4 separate regions of the Homo sapiens genome follow, and all the other regions are linked to region 2. Evidence: promoter capture Hi-C in human tissues and cell types (Jung and others, 2019). All regions are on one chromosome and are shown on one strand. The core of a region is centred on a gene start or on the middle of the fragment in contact, and the rest is flanking DNA. Distances in the headings are between cores, read along the strand shown. Region 1 has its middle 340 kb from the start of LINC02403. Region 2 holds the start of LRIG3 (leucine rich repeats and immunoglobulin like domains 3). Region 3 overlaps LOC105369789 (a long non-coding RNA gene). Region 4 overlaps LINC02388 (long intergenic non-protein coding RNA 2388).

The links. Contacts are between HindIII fragments. The study calls those that stand out against the background at their distance.
Region 1: a contact is called between a fragment that was not itself captured here and the fragment with the promoter of LRIG3 in region 2, in 1 of the 25 tissues and cell types used here (mesendoderm cells).
Region 3: a fragment that was not itself captured here is called in contact with the fragment with the promoter of LRIG3 in region 2 in 2 of the 25 tissues and cell types used here (dorsolateral prefrontal cortex and mesenchymal stem cells).
Region 4: a contact is called between a fragment that was not itself captured here and the fragment with the promoter of LRIG3 in region 2, in 2 of the 25 tissues and cell types used here (bladder and dorsolateral prefrontal cortex).

The regions. Positions count from the first base shown.
Region 1 is chr12:58,425,211-58,428,105 of GRCh38, forward strand. No RefSeq gene overlaps it. Among named protein-coding and RNA genes, the nearest start is that of LINC02403, 340 kb to the left of the region's middle. RefSeq lists enhancers at 1-819, 824-903, 1,084-1,203. The HindIII fragment of the contact is 3,948 bases long and covers 1-2,895 here.
Region 2 is chr12:58,919,239-58,922,116 of GRCh38, forward strand. It overlaps LRIG3 (leucine rich repeats and immunoglobulin like domains 3), which reads right to left and starts at 1,266. Exons shown (of 19, transcript NM_153377.5): 1 at 762-1,266. The coding sequence starts at 997. LRIG3-DT (LRIG3 divergent transcript) reads left to right here and starts at 1,466. Exons shown (of 6, transcript NR_183518.1): 1 at 1,466-1,552; 2 at 2,161-2,234. RefSeq lists an enhancer at 163-432 and silencers at 813-892, 1,313-1,422, 2,041-2,150. The HindIII fragment of the contact is 9,447 bases long and covers 1-2,878 here.
Region 3 is chr12:58,549,654-58,552,535 of GRCh38, forward strand. It overlaps LOC105369789 (a long non-coding RNA gene), which reads right to left. Exons shown (of 3, transcript XR_945007.3): 3 at 1,436-1,509. Among named protein-coding and RNA genes, the nearest start is that of LINC02388, 230 kb to the right of the region's middle. The HindIII fragment of the contact is 3,536 bases long and covers 1-2,882 here.
Region 4 is chr12:58,631,110-58,633,993 of GRCh38, forward strand. The region is part of intron 1 of LINC02388 (long intergenic non-protein coding RNA 2388); the gene reads right to left. All of the region lies in intron 1 of LOC100506869 (a long non-coding RNA gene), which reads left to right. Among named protein-coding and RNA genes, the nearest start is that of LINC02388, 150 kb to the right of the region's middle. The HindIII fragment of the contact is 5,154 bases long and covers 1-2,884 here.

The sequences.
Region 1 (2,895 bases), core at 268-2,767, 490 kb before region 2:
ATCAATGTCAGGAGTGGCACAGTGCAGCTATAAAGTAATATTTTCTTTTGCATTCCAACAGCAGAAAACATCTCTGGCTGCCAACAGTATCTGTATTTAAATTCTTCAGAATCACAGTTTCTTGTTCTTGCAAAGGACACACATTAGGGCCTGAATGGCCTTTGAAACTCATCTTATTTGTATTTGAGTGAGGGCTAAATTATATATCTTTTCCACACTAGGAAGAAAGAAAGTGGATTAAAGAAGAAAGATAGCTGTTTGAAATGCACAATGCCTTTACTAGGAACTAAAGGAATTGCATTCAATGGAAGCTGAATTTCAGACTAGTAAATGTGTTGGTAATCCTCTCTTTGTTTACTGAAAATGAATCACTTCTCAGTTTCTGAAAGGAAACAAAGAAATGTGCCCTGTGTTTGCAAAGGCTATAAATCCTCTAGTTGAGGCCATTTCAAGCTCACTGAGACTGCTGGTAAGGTTGAGTCATGCTTTCAAGAATGCATGGTGCAGTTTCAAAAAGAAAAAACAAAATGTGTTCCGAGTCAGCAGCGTTGCTGAGCAAACTGATGGTGAGTTTTCTGGAGAATCAGCCTTCAGCTCTGTGCCCACAGTCAGGTCACCCATTTATTCCTCAGAGTCAAATGGCAAATGTGTTCGTGCTGGTAAAGGTCAGTCAACACATTCAACTCTTACCCTTGGAGAGAAAGCTGGAAACCATCTTGGACACTTCTCATTGGCTTAGGAATGTCAGCTGAACTTGGAAACCTGCCCAGACTGTATTTTGCCATGACTGGCAGAGATAGGGTCTCCCACCAACTTCTCAGAACCACACTTGCAAAGATTAACTCTTTTGCACAGGAAACACCAACTTTCTATCTGGCCACATTGCTGCCTGAGACATGGCTTCTATTCTGAAGAGCTGCCAAGAGGGAGACTCTGTATGGCTGAATAGGAACAGCTCTGGTCTGCAGTTCCCAGTGAAATCAACACAGAAGGCCTGTGATTTCTGCATTTCCAACTGAGTGTAAACAAAGCTGCCAGGAAGTTCGAACTGGGCGGAGCCCACCGCAGCTCCACAAAGCCTCTGTAGCCACACTGCCTCTCTAGATTCCTCCTCTCTGGGCAGGGCATCTCTGAAAGAAAGGCAGCAGCCCCAGTCAGGGGCTTATAGATAAAACTCCCATCTCCCTGGGACAGAACACCTGGGGAAAGGGGCGGCTGTGGGCACAGCTTCAGCAGACTTAAACATTCCTGCCCATTGGCTCTAAAGAAAGCAGAGGATCTCTCAGCACAGCCCTTGAGCTCTGCTAAGGGACAGACTGCCTCCTCAAGTGGGTCCCTGACCCCCATGCCTCCTGACTGGGAGACATCTCCCAGCAGGGGTCGACAGACATCTCATACAGGAGAGCTCCAGCTGGCATCTTGTGGGTGCCCCTCTGGGGGACGAAGCTTCCAGAGGAAGGAACAGGCAGCAATCTTTGCTGTTTGGCAGCCTCTGCTAGTGATACCCAGGCAAACAGGGTCTGGAGTGGACCTCCAGCAAACTCCAGCAGACCTGTATCAGAGGGGCCTGTTAGAAGGAAAATTAACAAATAGAAAGGAATAGCATAAACATAAAGAAAAAGGACGTCCACACGGAAACCCCATCTGAAGGTCACTAACATGAAAAACCAAAGGTAGATAAAACCACGAAGATGAGGAAAAACCAGCACAAAAAGGGTGAAAATTCCAAAAAGCAGAACGCCTCTTCTCCTCCAAAGGATCACAACTCCTCACCAGCAAGGGGACAAAACTGGATGGAGAATGAGTCTGATGAATTGACAGAAGTAGGCTTCAGAAGGTGGGTAATAACAAATTCCTCCGAGCTAAAGGAGCATGTTCTAACCCAATGCAAAGAAGCTAAGAACCTTGAAAAAAGGTTAGAGGAATTGCTAACTAGAATAACCAGTTTAGAGAAAACATAAATGACCTGAAGGAGCTGAAAAACACAGCACAAGAACTTCGTGAAGCATACAAAGTATCAATAGCTGAATCAGTGAAGTGGGTGAAAGGATATCAGAGATTGAAGTTCAACTTAATGAAATAAAGTGTGAAGACAAGAATAGAGAAAAAAGAATAAAAAGGAATGAAGAAAGCCTCCAAGAAATATGGGACTTTGTGAAAAGACCAAACCTATGTTTGATTGGTGTACCTGAAAGTGACAAGGAGAATGGAACCAAGTTGGAAAGCACTCTTCAGGATATTATCCAGGAGAACTTCCCCAACCTAGGAAGACAGGCCAACATCCAAATTCAGGAAATACAGAGAACACCACAAGGATATTCCTTGAGAAGGGCAACCCAAAGACACATAATAGTCAGATTTGCCAAGTTTGAAATGAAGGAAAAAATATTAAGGGCAGCCAGAGAAAGGTCGGGTTACCACAAAAGGAAGCTCATCAGACTAACAGTGGATCTCTCTGCAGAAACCTAACAAGCTAGAAGAGAGTGGGGGCCAATATTCAACATTCTTATATAAAAGAATTTTTCAAGCCAGAATTTCATATCCAGCCAAACTAAGCTTCATAAGTGAAGGAGAAATGAAATCCTTTACAGACAGGCAAATGCTGAAAGATGTTGTCACCATCAGGCCTGCCTTACAAGAGCTCCTCTTGAAGGAAGCACTAAATATGCAAAGGAAAAACCCATACCAGCCACTGCAAAAACATACCAAATTGTAAAGATCATCAACACTATGAAGAAACTGCATCAACTAATGGGCAAAATAACCAGGTAGCATCATAATGACAGGATCAAATTCACACATAACAATATTACCCTTAAATGTGAATGGGCTAAATGCCCCAATTAAAAGACACAGACTGGCAAATTGGATAAAGAGTCAAGACCCATTGGTGTG
Region 2 (2,878 bases), core at 16-2,515:
TTCAGGTTTTCAGACTTCGCAGCTAAAAATCCAAAAACTTGCATAAGAGCTCCCTGCGCTCTCCCCTAAACCGTCTGGGCGTTCTGAGGAGCTACAGAAATCACGCCCTTGATTCTGGATAATCGAGTTCCGCCCTTTCCATAGCTACCGACCAGTCTTTACAATCTGGTTGAGGAGTGGGAACTTACGGTCTGCTAATGTGAAAAAGCAAGCAGAGGGAGAACAACAGAAGTACGTCCACCATAACTTGGAGAATGACCGAATTCTGTTGAGGGGGCTTCCCAAATGAAAAGCCTGACTTCAGTTACTGGGTGGGAACAGGAAAAGGAGTCTGACGCAGCTAGAAACTAAAACTGAACCAGACTCATAACTCAGCGAGAACTGCAAACTCCTGATGTGTGCAGGTTGCCGCTTATCTCCCCTGGGCCTGGCAGGAGCAAGCATTTGAACCCCTTGGCTAGCTTAGGGCGCAGGACTTCATCCCCAATCTCTGGCGTCGTTACTGGCCCCCAACCCTGGTCTACCTGCAGCCAGTTAGGACGCGCCAAGAGCCCACCTGCGCCGCCCGCAAAGCACGTGGGAGGGAAACTGAGGCCCGGACAGTTCTTTTTCCACGCCCACGGAGCGCCGATCGCGGCCTGGGCCAGAAGGAGCTATACGGCAAAAAGGGGACTGCACGCCGAACCCCATTCCCCGCCGGCTCCTGTTTTCTCGAATCTCCAGCGGCCCGGGCCCCCTCCCCCCGCGGGAAGAATACTTACAGCCGAGCGACCCAGGACGGGAGTGGCTCGGGAAGACGCGCTAGCCGCTTACGACTGCAGTCCAGCAGGTCCCCGAGGCAGCGGCAGGTAGTGGGGCATGGGCGCTCGGCGGCTACCCCAGAGGGCTGCCCGAGTTCCCCGCGACCGCCGCTGTCTGACCGGCCAGCGCGCCCCAGCACCGCGCACAGCAGCAGCCCCAACCCCGCGGCGCGCGCACGGAGGCTCGGCGCGCTCATCGCGGTCCAGCGGCCTAGGTCTCTACCCGAAGCTCCCAGCCGGCGCGCGCTCGGGGCCCGGCACAAACTTCCAGCCGAGGGTGCACGCCCGCCCTCGCGGTCGCGTGCGCGCTCCTCCCTCGCGCTGCCCGGTCAATTCCTTCTTTTACTCCCGGCGGCGAAGCCCTTTCATGCCCCCAAACAGCAGGAGGGAAACCGAAAAGAACTGCCAACTGCAACAGAGTTGCAGCTTGAGCAGCGTCGGCTCGCCGAAGCCCCTTCTTGTCTGCAAAAGAAACTTTTTCGCCTCCACCCCGCGGCACTGCGCCAAGTCCCCGCGCGGCGGAGTAGCAAGGCGGGCGGGTAGAGGCCGACGCGCGCCCATTGGCCGACTCGGCTGCGGGCGTCCCCGTGGCCACGTGACAATAACACCGCTCCAGCCGGGGGCCTACGCGCGGGAGAAAGTGGAGCTGAGATTGTAGGAAATTCAGAGTTATATTTTCCAGCCTCTCCAGCCAGAAGTCTCCACTACGTCGTGGGAAACATATATCAAATGGAGTTGAAAGGCAAAAGGAAGTGAGCAAATACTGGGCTAGTTCTCGGAGTTGGAGGTATTTAGGAGAACTTCAGGGAAGTAAAGTTTAATTAGCAGTGTTTTCAGGAAACTTTTCAATTCCAAATTAAAGACACTGATAAATTATCCTACCATCCACAGATGAAAGAGTGGTTTCAATGAAAACAGCTCTTTCAACGTTAATGCTGGTGGGTGTTCCCCCATACATCGGCTTCAAAAGTAAAAACAATAATAAAACGTAAAACTCGTGGTTTTGGAAAGTGTATATTGAATTACAAATAGCCAGCCTTCGTGCACTGGATAAAGCTGGGCGGGGTGGGGGATGGGAGATGACCTTCTAATAGACCTCGATGGCAATCATAGATTCCTGGTAATAGTAATAATAAAAGTAGTCACAGTGACATTTCAAAGTAAAATGAAAACTAAGACCTTGGAGGAAAAAATTAGTATATGCACCTTGGTCCACTTGCGCTTTGAGTAATGACACATGTTGATTGAGAATGCTACCAGGGTAAAAGTACCTCCCGGCCTCCTCAGCTGGGGGAGTGGATGTTTGGGGCTGGATTCAGGCTACAGGACTTCCCAGTGAAGTTTGTTCCTTAACTTACAGGTGATCAGCGCCACAAGATGTTGAAACTAATGGAGACCGCAGAGATCATGTGCTAAGGGGCCTTCCTCCTCTGGGTAAGGAAATAGACCTAGAGAACGTAACTAATGTGTTTGTTGCAAAAAAAATAAAAATAAAAGCAAGACAGAAAACATGAACAAACCAAAAAACAAACCCTGGAAGCTTAAAGTAAGTTTTCACTTCTATACATTGTTTATTGCATGCTGTCTGCCCAAGCTTGTCTGTCCTTGGAGTTGCGTAAACTGCTCATGATTGAGGAGTGGAGATAGCTTGTGGAGTTGAGACTTTAACCCTGACTCTAAGGCCCATTGATTTTTCACTGTAGCAAATCACTCCCACTTACGGGGGAAGGAAAAGACTCACTTTGAAGTTAACACACCCTATTTTAGATATGGTATCCCATTTTCTTATTTCCAGCTACCATTAACAACAACGCTACTACCTTTTTGGATGATGTATAATTATAATTAGAAAATATCTATAATGATGGCACCTTGGTTTTGAATTTATGATTTTGTCTGCTTGGGAGTAGACAAAACACACTACAGTCATAGTAAGGATTTTCCAGCTCAGTATCCCCCATCTATTTTTATTTATTTTTTTTATTTTTTTATTTTTGAGATGGAGACACTCCAGTCTGTCACCCAGGCTGGAGTGGGGTGCAGTGATGCGATGTCGGCTCGCTGCAACCTCTACCCCC
Region 3 (2,882 bases), core at 5-2,504, 370 kb before region 2:
TGCAGAGGACCTCCTCAATGCAAAGTCCATACCTGCAACATTTGGGAAACTCAAGCACATTTCCTAAAAACACGTGGCAATGCACTAATTTACAATATAGGCCTGAATCCCCATAAATCAAAGCTTTTCCCAGGCAAAGGTAATTTTTCCAGGATCCATTACGTGTTACATTCTAATCTGTGGTTCTCAACCCTGGCCATACATTGAAATTATGTGGGGGGTTTCTAAAAAATATTGCTTTCCAGGCCTCACCTCAAAGCAGCTAGATATATGGGAGTGGGACCCAGATATTGATACTTTTTAAAGTTTGGAGAAGTCACTGATGGAAGCACAACCTTAATCTATTTCTAGCTGTAAATTATAACAGATTAAATTATCTGGGAAAAAGGGATAGGCTGAAAAAGGAGAGGGAGAAGTAGGGAACTCATGATTTCAACTCTTCTAGGGTCCGCTGAATCCATGACAGTTACCCAGGATCCACTGCCTGCAAACTTAGAAATTAAAACTTATTTTGGATAAGCTTCCAATGAAGAGGTTCCTTGTACACTAAGCTTCTTATATTCCCAAAGGGAAAACAAGCCTTGAAGAGCCCCATGTTGCTAGGGAGTCCAGTGCAGTGAAGGCCAGGTCTGGCTGAGCAGTCAGGTCCCTGGGCTTCTCCCCTTATTATATTATTTTTCAGAGAAGGAGAAAAGAAAACAAAAAATAAAACTAAGTGTGGTGGGATTTATTAATAATGAAATGTGTTAATAAAAGATATTTGTCAGAGGAAGAAAATAGTAAAATCTTTCCTTCCTTAAAAGTTTGCATTTAAAGTTGAAATGGTTTCCATGCTTAATGAAAACTGTCTTATCTTTCTTAGCTATGTTTTTTTTTTTTTTGCGACAGAGTCTGGCTCTGTCACCCGGGCTGCAGTGCAGTGAAACAATCTTTGTTCACTGCAGCCTCCAACTCCTGGGCTTAAGTGATCCTCCAATCTCAGCCTCCTGAGTAGCTGGGACTACAGGCATATGCCACCATGCTTGGCTAATTTATTTATTTATTTATTTATTTATATTTTTTGTAGAGATGGGGCCTTGCCATGTTGTCCAGGCTGGTCTTAAACTCTTGGACTCCAGCAATCTGCCTGCCTCAGCCTCCCAAAGTGCTGGGATTGCAGGTGTGAGCCACTGTGCCTGGCTTGTCTTATTGTCTTATACATCAAAACAAATAATGCACAAACATACAAAAATATTCACCTTTGAATCCCATGCCTTCCCAAGATTACTGGCAATATTATCCATTCTTTTATGTTAGTTCAGAAACAGGACTTTGTGCTCTTTCTTACTGACAGAGAACTACACTAGTGGGGTTCACTTGCCTCATGTGCTGGGAGAAGAAACGTAGAAGGCCCTCCTCAAAATGTCTCAGGTCCTCTGTGCGGGGCCATGTTCATCACAGAGTTTACATGTGGATTCCAAACGTCTTACTGTGACTGTCAATAACACCCTTTCATGAGTTGGAAACTTCCTATTATTGCAGAAAAGATGAGGCAAAACAACCATTTCTCACCCTTTCCTTTCAAGAGAAATGGCTCAGCAGTTGCAAAATTCATTCCTGCACAACTATGGGCCTGTAATAACCTTGATTGGTTTGGTAGATTTATCTGCTGACAGACCATAATTGAGGAAAACATTGATTAATTGATCTCTGACTGGCTTGTGAGGTGCTATATAGCAATAAGGAATATGTGGTATGTAGATCAGCTTTTAATTATTTTTGTTTAGGTTCCTGTCAGATTAAATAAGTGACTAGGCAGTATTATCATTGATCTGTGGCACTGGAAGAAATAGTTCACAGTACATGCTGAAGATTTAGAAATGGTTCATCCTACAAGTTTAGAATGCATCTTTGCCTTATAAAGCTTTGACCTATGTAAAATCCAGATTATGCTAACAAGTTCAATTTGTGCAAAGCTTTGCAGCTTACAAATCATTTTCTCATGCATCATCCTACTTGACCCTCATGACAAATCTGAGAGGTAGGGTGGGCAGGTGTTACTATTCCTCCTTTACAAGCAAAGACAGTAAGGCTAAGAGATTTCCCCCATCCCCACCCCAAGTAATAACACCTTATTTTAATTTGCAGAGTATGGAAAGCAAAGGAAAATTAGAAATTATTTAGCAAATTCTAGCTGGTTAAGCATGTGGAAGGCATTAATCACCACCCCAAACAACACCATACTCATCAATATTGTTTCTTACCATTAAATGTGCTGAAATAGAAATTGCTATTTTGACAATGTGAAGTATTATTACAAGGATTTGAGTTTGCTAAAAGGCCTTATCTCCTTCAATTTGATACTGTGTACAGGAAAAGCTCAAGATAATAACCCATTAACCACAGTTATTAAAGGTTTTCCCGCTGTATTTACAAAACTCATGAAAAAAAAATCGTTATTGACAGAACTAGCCAAAAATTAGTACAGATCCTTGACACTCAGGGAAACAGAGGTCAAATATAGAATATTAATATTGAACAACATGTGTACTATACAATCAAAGAAGAATTACTGAGCATTTTCATGCCCAGAAGTATGCTGAGTGCTGTGGGAATTTAAAACAAGCTCCTCACCCAGACAGTTTACAATCTAGTTAGGTGTTTACCATTGAATAATCTATGCAGATCCCATTCTTTAATGAGGAGCAAAGAGCCAGGAGCATATGGAACAATAAATGTTCTGGTAATATTAAAGACAATAACAAGCAGAAGTAAAGACAGTTTTTTCCTGCCCTGTTTTCCTGGGCTAATTTGTCAGAGCATCGTAGTCTGAACAAAAGCTGTGCCAATAGGAATCTGTACTAAGAAAGCAATATTTTCATCCTTTTTAATGTCAGTCTGCA
Region 4 (2,884 bases), core at 300-2,799, 290 kb before region 2:
CTCATTCCTAAAAACTAAGCCTGAGAAACAGTCGAATGTAATGATCAACAGTGTGCATATGAAAGTCTGACCACCTAGGTTTAGATCCCACTACTTCCACCTATCAGTTGCGTGACCTTAGGCAAGTTACTTTATCTCCCTGTGTCTAAGTTTTTTCAGCTGTTTAACATTTTATTAATAAATCAGTGATATCAGCAAGATGGTGGAATAGGAGGTTACCCCCTTGTATCCCCCCAGGGCAACATGAATTCTGCACCCATCTACAAACAAAAGTCTCTTTGTGGGAGATTTGGGATTCATGTACGGGGTTGTAAAACTTCTCTTTTGAGCCAAAGATCTAAGAGGATTGGTTTGAGAGTGCAGATCTGCACCTAGGTGGCAGGCCCTCCAGTTATGCTCCCAATTTTGGACCCAGAAACAACCTCATTTTCCAAAGAGTTTGGCTACAGCCCCATTTGGCCTTGAGACAACTACCAAAACCATCTGCTAAGGGATCTGGGAAGAATCACACACGCTAGTTCCTTGAGAGACAGGCCTGTCTTCTTGCTGACATCTGTCTCTGCAGTGGACCTGAAAGTTACCCTGTAAATAGGCTACAGCCCTCCTGAGCTGTGGTCCCAGCTTTGTACTGCTTGCGCATAGACCAAGAAGGAGATTTGCCTACCTGATGCACCAGGACGGGCTTGCTGGCCTCTGTCCTATAGTAGATCCTGAAATGACCCTCTCTTGGCCCCAGCCACCCTGCCACATCCCCAGAGTTAATTTTCTTATGCAGGGACTACTATCCTGGCCAGGCTTGCCAGCCTGTCCCAGAGCAGTTCCTGAAGAGGCCTTGAATCTCAGCTCTGGCCCCTCTGAGCTGAGGTCTGGGAGTAACTCTGTCCTTATGCTGGAAGTCTCACACATTGGTGTCACTGAGTCAGGCTTGCCAACATCGATCCCATAGCAGATTCTGAAATAACTCAGAAGCTTGATTGTAGCCCCTCCTGGCTGTGTTCTGGAAACAGCTCTTCCAAGTACAGCTCCCTCTGGGAGACAAGCCCCTCTGAATCCCTGTGACAGGTTTGCCAATTTCTTTCCCAGAGTAGATCCTCAAATGATCCTGGATTTCATTTCTGGCCCTTTCTGTCTTGAAGATAAGAGTAGTTCCATTTGCCTGGAGAACCAGAAGGAAGCACACCCTGTAGGGCCCCTGCATAGTGACACCCTGAACTTGGTCTCACTGTAGATCTTGAAATAACCCTATAAATTGACTCCAGTCCTCCTCAGCTGCAGTCTAAGAACTGGCCTGCTCACCCAGAAAATCACTGGGAGACATACCAATTCATGACCCTGGAGACAGGCCTAAAGATTTGGTATTGATGGTGGACCCTGAAATAACCTTGTATCTCAGTTCAGAACATCTTAACTATGGAACCCATCCAGTGATCCAGTGAGATCTCTCCTATTTGAAGGGAAGCCACACCCCTCAGTACATATGGTAACAGACCTGGCATCTGCAAACCCTAAAGTTGACCTTTATCTCAATGCCAGCCACACAGACCAGGTCCTGAAGACAATTCAGTCTACTCAGGGACATAGAGGCCCATGCCCACTAGAATCCCTGGTAACAGGCTTTCCAATGAAGACTCAGCATCAGTCATGAGACCTGATCCAATCCCACTCAATGGCAATCCCAGAGGTAATCTTATCAGCTGGGAGACCTAACAGGAGAAGATTTTAACTTGCTAAAACCAGTCTGTAAAGATTGAAAAGGGGACTTGCCCCTTCAAGTGCACTGGTACTAATGGAAGGCTTTGCAGATAATAAAGAATTGGGCAAGCATGACACCACCAAGGGAAACTAATACAGTTTCAATAATCAGCTCCAAAGAAATGGAGATATAAAATTTACCTGAAAAAGAATTCAAAATAATAATTTTAAAGAAGCTCAATGAGAAGCAACAAAATACAGACAGAAAAACAATACCTGAGCAAAATAAGTTTAATAAAGGAAAAGAAAGCATAAAAAAGACCCAAACAGAAATCCTGGACAATGCAATGACAGGACTAAAAGATTCAATAGAAAATTTTAACAGCAGGCTTGATCATGCAGAAAAAATAATTAGTGAACTTGAAGACAATTCAGTTGAAATTAGACAATTAAAGAAACTAAAAGAAAAAAACTGAAAAAGAGTGAAGAAAACATAAGGGACATACAGGACATCATCAAACATACAAATATATAAATTATGGAGGTACCAGAAGGGGAAGAGAAAGAGAAAGGAGCAGAAAGATTATTTAAATAATTACTCTCTGCAAGCTTTCCAAATATTGGGAGGGATACAGACATACAGATTCAGGAAGTTGAAAAGATCTCAAGTAAGATCAAGAGAAAAAGGAATATTCCAATATATGTTATAATCTAATTGTCAAAGTCAAAATCAAAAAGAGAATCTTGAAAGCCACAAGAGAGAAGAAACTCATCACATGTAAAGAATCTCTGTAAGGCCATAAATGAATATCTCAACAGAAATCTTGCAAGTCAGGAAGGAGTGGGATGACTTATTCAAAAAGCTATCCTTCAGAAAGGAAGGAGAGATAAAGACATTGCAGGAACAAACAAAAGCTGAAAGAATTCATTACCACAAGATTGGCCTTACAAAAAATGCTAAAGGGAGTTCTTTGAGTTGAAATGAAAGGATAATAAAAAACAATATGAAAACATGAAAGTATAAAGCTAACTGCTAAAAGTAAATACATGGTCAACTTCACAACACCCTCATACTGTAAAGCTAATGGGTAAATCCCTCTTAAGTCTAGTATAAAAGTTAAAAGACAAATGTTTTAAAAACAACTATAGCTATAAAAAATTGGTTAACAGATGCAAAACATAAATAAATGTA